Regions from separate parts of the Homo sapiens genome. Here region 2 is linked to region 1. Evidence: promoter capture Hi-C in 16 types of primary human blood cells and fetal thymus (Javierre and others, 2016). All regions are on one chromosome and are shown on one strand. Each heading gives the region's core, a stretch centred on a gene start or on the middle of the fragment in contact. The rest is flanking DNA. Distances are from core to core; before and after follow the strand shown. Region 1 holds the start of CHASERR (CHD2 adjacent suppressive regulatory RNA). Region 2 overlaps IL16 (interleukin 16).

What was found. The method cuts DNA at HindIII sites, captures the fragments that hold promoters and counts their contacts. A CHiCAGO score of 5 or more calls a contact.
Region 2: a fragment that was not itself captured here is called in contact with the fragment with the promoter of CHASERR in region 1 in 1 of 17 cell types (total CD4 T cells); the score reaches 5.9 in total CD4 T cells.

Annotation. Positions count from the first base shown.
Region 1 is chr15:92,881,593-92,884,719 of GRCh38, reverse strand. It overlaps CHASERR (CHD2 adjacent suppressive regulatory RNA), which reads right to left and starts at 1,877. Exons shown (of 6, transcript NR_037601.1): 1 at 1,534-1,877; 2 at 942-1,135. RefSeq lists silencers at 1,151-1,400, 2,021-2,150 and enhancers at 1,394-2,035, 2,461-2,550. The HindIII fragment of the contact is 7,161 bases long and covers 1-3,127 here.
Region 2 is chr15:81,294,352-81,297,478 of GRCh38, reverse strand. IL16 (interleukin 16) reads right to left here. Exons shown (of 19, transcript NM_172217.5): 13 at 401-551. Among named protein-coding and RNA genes, the nearest start is that of STARD5, 28 kb to the left of the region's middle. RefSeq lists enhancers at 1-281, 282-848. The HindIII fragment of the contact is 2,959 bases long and covers 398-3,127 here.

The sequences.
Region 1 (3,127 bases), core at 628-3,127:
TACTTAAGACAGATTCTGTAAAATCAAGATATGCGCAACTGATGTAACATGTACCACTATAGGAAGGCTACTCAAAAAATAAAACAATTTTACTGGAAAAATGCCCTTAGAAATATGGTCGAATAAACCAGTATCTGATTTCAGATGTACTATGTAAGTCTGCCCAACACTATTTTTACGTAGTTCTGCACCTTTACAACACAAGAGCTCCGCAGAATGAAGACAAATATATTCTAAAATACACAAAGGTTTGTGCGCTTCTGGTTTGTTCTTCAAACCACTACACTTAAAAATTACCCTTCCAACATTTTTCTAAGATTAGAGACTATACAGAGAACTCTACTAAATTTTATGAAACCTGTACTTTTAAAATACTGTTCCGTTTTAAGCATATCTAGATTTTTATACATGCAACAAATGCAACAAATATGGCTCCTCTTCATCGCCCATTACCGAGAGCAGTCCTACTTTATTCATATTTACATTACGAGAAAGTAACTTCAGGAAGAGATTTGGTGTCAGAATGTTCTTTTGTGAAAGTTTTTCGATCATGGCTTGTGATAATATAAATTCTTAAAAATAATTAAATTATGAACTTTTAAAGACTAGGAATTGACCCAAGTACGTTCTAACATTCAGGTGTGAGAAGTTGCAGATAACGGCTCCTTGAGACCTTTTTAAAAAGTACCAAACAGTGTATTTAATCATATTTAAATATCAGGAGATCAAATGATCTTGGCGTCATTACTCGGTAAAATAAACTACATTAACCAAACGTCATCAGCTAGCTAGCACCGTAATTATCAAATCTATTTCCATTAAACAGCCTTGACGACACAGTAAACTTGTCTTCGTAATTCTGAAATACCAGAAGCACTCCTCCAACTTGCATTTTTCAAAGACAACCTTAACGTCATAAAGGTTTAATAAGCAGCAAGTACCTTCGCATGTATCACTGCAGCCGTTTCAAAATCGGCTTTGAAAGAGTTAAAAGCCAACACCCAATAGGAGGGAAAAAAACAAGTTTTATTTTTGTTGAAACGTAGTCAGGGTTCCATTGTTCTTTTAAATTCGATCATGAAGATGAGTTCCCACCTCACCGGAAAGAGGTTAAAAAGCTCCTCCGTTGGAGAACCTGAAAGGGATTTTTTTACCCTAAATATCAAAATAACTCACCAGGACAGAAAGGGGCTCTCCACGCCCGATCCCCTTCGGGCTCTCGCCGGCATTCACCCGCCGCCCCTTTCCCGGCGGATCCAGTCCCGGCGACGAGGCTGCCCCCCGCCCACCTGCCGCCCGCGGGCTCTGCAGCGGGGCCCCGCGTGCCCCCTACCCCAGGACCCTACGACTCGGGCCCAGGGCACCGAGGCGCATCCCGCCGGCGAGAGCCGGCCCCCGACCACGGAGGGGCAGTGCGAGAAGAGCCGAGCGGCGAGGCCCGGCCCGCCGCCCCCTCCTGCTCGCGCGCTCAAGGACATTTTGCTTTTCCTCCCAAGGACAAAGGACAATAAAAGGAGCTAGGGAGCCACTCACCGGGTCCGAGCGCGGCCACCGGCACCTCCTGGTCGCCCAAACCCGAGTCCCGGGCCGGACCGCCCGCCCGAGCCTCCCGCCCGCGCCGGGTCCAGCCGCCGGGGCCCGGGGGAGCCTCCGAGGCGGCAACCGCAGCGGCGCTTTCGGCGTCGTGGGCCCGGCCGCCCTGGGCGCCTCTGCCGCGGGCTGTGACGCCGACGCGCGCGGCCCGCCTCGCCTCAGCCGCGGCAGCCCCACTCCCGCGGGCCTGCTGGCCGTCCGGGCGTAGCTCCCCGCCGGCCGGCGGGCCTCGCGGCCGCGGCGGAACGCCTGACAGCTCGGGGTGCTGCTGCCTCTCCGGCCATCTTGTGCCGTGTGTGTGGTGTCTCTCTCCCGTCTCCTCTCTAGGCTTTACTCCCTCCTCCTCCTCCCCCCGCCCCACACACCACACAACATGGCCTCTTCGCTGCGGCGGCAGCGGCTGCGGCGGCGGCAGGAGCTCCGCCGCGCTCCAGCCCGCTCCCCTCCCCCACCATCCCCGCCTCCCGCCCGCAGGCCCGGGGGCCAACGCGCACGCGCGCCGCCGCCCGCCCGCCGCGGCCATTGGCTCCACGAGCTTCCTGCATCCCCTATCCGGGAGCGGCCTCACGCACGTTAGCTGGCGTCTTCCTCCCTCCCAACAACAACTTCTTCCATTCTATTGGTTAATTTCAACACCACCCCTTCCGCCTCCTTCGTGCGGATAGGCTGGCCTTAGTGCCATTCACTGTCCGTAGGCGTTTCTGGTTTTCTTGAGAAGCCCCGGGCCACGATTGGCTGGTGATGGAACCTTTGGGGTTGGAGCTGAGCTGTTGCTTTTTTCCCCGCAGTGCGGACCCCTCCAGGCTAGCTGGAGGGTTCCTGGTATGGTCTAGGCCAGGCTAGAATGGTTAGTGCAGGGTCGCACAAATAGTGGATTCGCGTCTAGAAAAAGCTCTGGCTTCGGTGTTTCTAGGTTCAGATTTTGTCTTTAAAAAAAGGGAAAGAAAAAAATGACTGACAGGATGATGAGCAAACAAGATACAGGCCCACAGCCCTTGGGCAAGCAGCCATATCCTCAAAATATTTGTTCTAAGCACCCAGGCCTTCCATGAAGGTCACACAGTCAGGACCAATGGTTTTACCATCAGCACATTCCCTAGCCCCAGTATCCGAGTTGAGATGCGATTTATTTGTGGATTTGTAGACTGCCTGTTGCGCATTTACCTGAGAGCCTAAAAGAATGTCTAGTGTCTTGTGAGCTGTCGTCATGGAAATCAAAAAAAACAATTAAAAAGAATGTCCAGTGTCCTGAGGCCTTAGCGAATCAATCTCAATACCGGTTGACTGGATTCCACCCTGTAGGACAATGTTTGTTAGAGTAGCAGTTTGAACCTGAAAAATCATAGTCTACCTTTTCAACCTCCTTCCAGAGAACCAGGCAAAACAAGTTTCATTTGCTTTCGGCAAATCTCACTTTTTTTTCGTTACTTCTTCCTACTTTAACGTGGAAACAACTCTAAGAAGACCATAGGAAAAAAATGAAAACCTAAACTTTCCTGAAATGGATGGGGAAAAAAAAAAGAGGTAGCTCTCT
Region 2 (3,127 bases), core at 628-3,127, about 12 Mb after region 1:
TACTTTTCTGGCGTTGCATTCTCTGACTCAGAAATCCTGAATGCAGCAGGACTGTTGCAACTGGAATGTTGGCACCCTAGAGGTAGCTGCCCAGGATGGCTGGGTGGGTGTGTCTTTGGACCTCTTCCAAGGGCTCCATCCTCCCAATTATCCAGAATGGCCTGCATTCCTGCTGCCACCCCCACAGCATCACCCGTCCACCCAGGAGGCTCCCCACCCTGGACAGCACCTCCACGGTGCTGCTGCCCAGCACCTGGAACCCTTGACTGTTGATCAGCCAGGTCCAGTGGTGATGTCAATGCAGAGCACTCTGATCCTCAGGCCAATTTGTGCTCTTATCTTATCCCTGCACCTTTTTTCAAAAGACCCTTCCTTTTGGAAGATCTCAATGAAAGCTTACCTGGGCTGGCTCTTCTCCACCCTGGCTCGCCCTCTGTGGAGGACTTGGTCTGTGGGCCGATACCAGGTCCTGGGCAGCCGGCAGAGGCACTAGGGCTTCTCCCTGCTGTGTCTTCCTGTGGTAGCAGCAGTGGCAGCAGCTCTCTCGCTTCCTGTGGTGTAAACAGGAAGCGAGACCATGTCAAAACGGTAGCCTCAAGCTGTGAGAAGGCGAGACACGCTTTGATTGGGACGGAAAAACGGATATTGAGCTGCTTTCAGTGAGAAGTTCATCAGCAGCCATGTAAAGAGGATTCTTTTCTCCTTGGTGCTGACGTGGCAGAGCCAGCACCTCCTAGACATGCAGAGCATCCCTTGACTTCCAGCAACCTGGTATCCAGGTCATGGGCTCATACTGTTGACATACTTGAAGACCCTGACTCTTTATGATAGGAACAAAAGGCTTTGAGTGTGGAGGGACTGGCATTGCTTCAGTTACAACTGCATCTGGTGAACTACCCACCCCGGGAGGGTATAGGGCAGCGTAGAAACAAGGCAGCAAAAAAACCTGGCAGCTAGTGTTCCCTAAGGTTAGAGCACTCAGGAAAATGCTTGTCAATTGCTGTCACTTGTTAAGCACTCTTCAAATATTTAGTAAGTGTTCTGCAAAAGATGACAGATACTCAGCACCTGTGCCATTGCTCCCCTCTGTGGCACCTAGGGTGACATCCTCAATCTGTTGCAGAATTGTTTCCACCACTGAGCCTGGATGCAGCCTTGGGGTCCTCCCAAAACAGCCTAGGGACAAGATGAACCAGGCTCTGAATAGCTATGCAATACTTGAAGAGTTTGGATTATCACACAGTGTGCTTAAGGTACTGTCAGGGCCCAGAGGAAACAGAGAGACCAGTTCCATCCCAGAGGTGGAGAAGGCTTCCTAGAGAAGTACTTTCTGTCTGCTTCATAAACAGAGTAAGAATTTTGCAGGCAGAGAGGCAGAAAAATAGTGTTCCAGAGACATAGCCCAACCAAACATAATACCCATCTGGAAAAAAAGATTGAGAAAGCAGACATCATCAAAATGATGCCACCTGTATTTGATTGTCTGCAAGAGAAATGCTTTGCTATACTGCGGTGGCCTCCACGTCCGGTTCATTCCAGATTTGTGTAATGATGGGCCATTTGACATGGCTGCAGGCTTCCTTCCAGAGAGGAAGGAAAGAGGAAGGAACAAATGCATCCTTTGGGACTAAAAAAGCAATGGCAAATATCCATGACCTGAAATTTAAGATCTACATTGACAATAAACATTTTGGAGGAAGCAAAGGTCTACAAAAGTTAGAAGTGTATTCACAGAGCATTGCCTCAGCTCGAGTTCCCTACTGTAGAACTGAGCTTTAGGAGAGCATTATGAAATACTGAGAGATCAACCAATTTCAAAGGAATCATTGAGCTTCTCGAACTAGCCCTTAAAAAAAGTAAGGCTGAGTCATGGCATTAGAAGCTCCAAATATTGGCCTGATGATCTCTAAGTCTCTTGTCCACAAGAGAAATTACATGGGGATGAAATTTAATTTCACCTGGTTGGGAGCTCTGTAAGTTGACATCTGTTGACATTCATGAATTGTTAGCTCTTTTACAGGCAGCCACATGTGATACCAACTGCAGTCAATGCAGCTTTACAACTTAGAACAGCACAAATGTGTTTTGTCTTTTCATCAACACATCCAATATTGCATCCTCTTCATGGGAGACTTCAGAATTAGCCCCTGAAATAAATTTGATTTTACACAAATTTTTCTCTTACTAGTGTTTCCTGGAACCATGCTTGGTGGATGAGGGAGGGAGAAGAGAAAGAAGGAAAGAGGGAGAGAGCAGATTCAGCATAGTGGGGAGAAAGTACGTTTTTGTTTGGTTTTTTTGTTTGTTTTCTAAGAAAGGATTCTTCGAAAATCCTGTTGTGTTTTTTTAAGCAAGTTTTTTAAAGCACGGGGGAGAGTTTAGGCTGATTTTTTATAAGAGGGATGTTAGTTTTTTGTTGAAGAAAATATCCCAAAGTTCATATTGGTTGTGAGAGTTAAGTCCCCTTGAATTAGAGTAGATGGGAAAGACTTGGGGGTCATCCATAGCAGCTTGACAACAGTCTTGGGACCCTGTAGAGAAAAGACTGCAGGGAGGGAAAAGTGGGAGAGTGAGACAGTGGACACTGTGGCCACGGAAGAAAACATCCAGTGAGAAATCCCCAGGAATGGTCAAGGAAATTTTGAGAGTGACCTCAAGCAAATTGCTTCCTGTTTTCTATTGCGTGCTATGATCCTTTCTCTGTGACCCCCGCCTCTCCAGTGCCCAATAAAATTATGTCGTGCTGATTGCTTTTATGGAAATGTTTGTGGGAGAAGGATCTGCTGGCCACGTGGGACAGACCAGAGCAAACAGAGGAGGGCAGCTGCAGAACGGCCTTGTCTCCAGGAGACGGTGCTGTTGGGGGCAGGTACAGGAGGGAGCCCTGTATTCTGCTGAGGCACACAGGGCATGAAAGATGACCTGTGGGAAGTTCCTTGCCTGGGCTTCCCTGAGGACACCCCAGTTCCTTCTCCAGACGCCTTACTCGGGAATATTCCCTGACCCTATGTGGCTCTGCCAAGGGCATCACTGGGACAGACCTGCTGTGGCAACTGCACTCCTTTTCTGGGCCTCCAGGAGGAAGGCAAAATGACTGGCTTCTCAGCTGGCTGCTCCTGATTTGCCC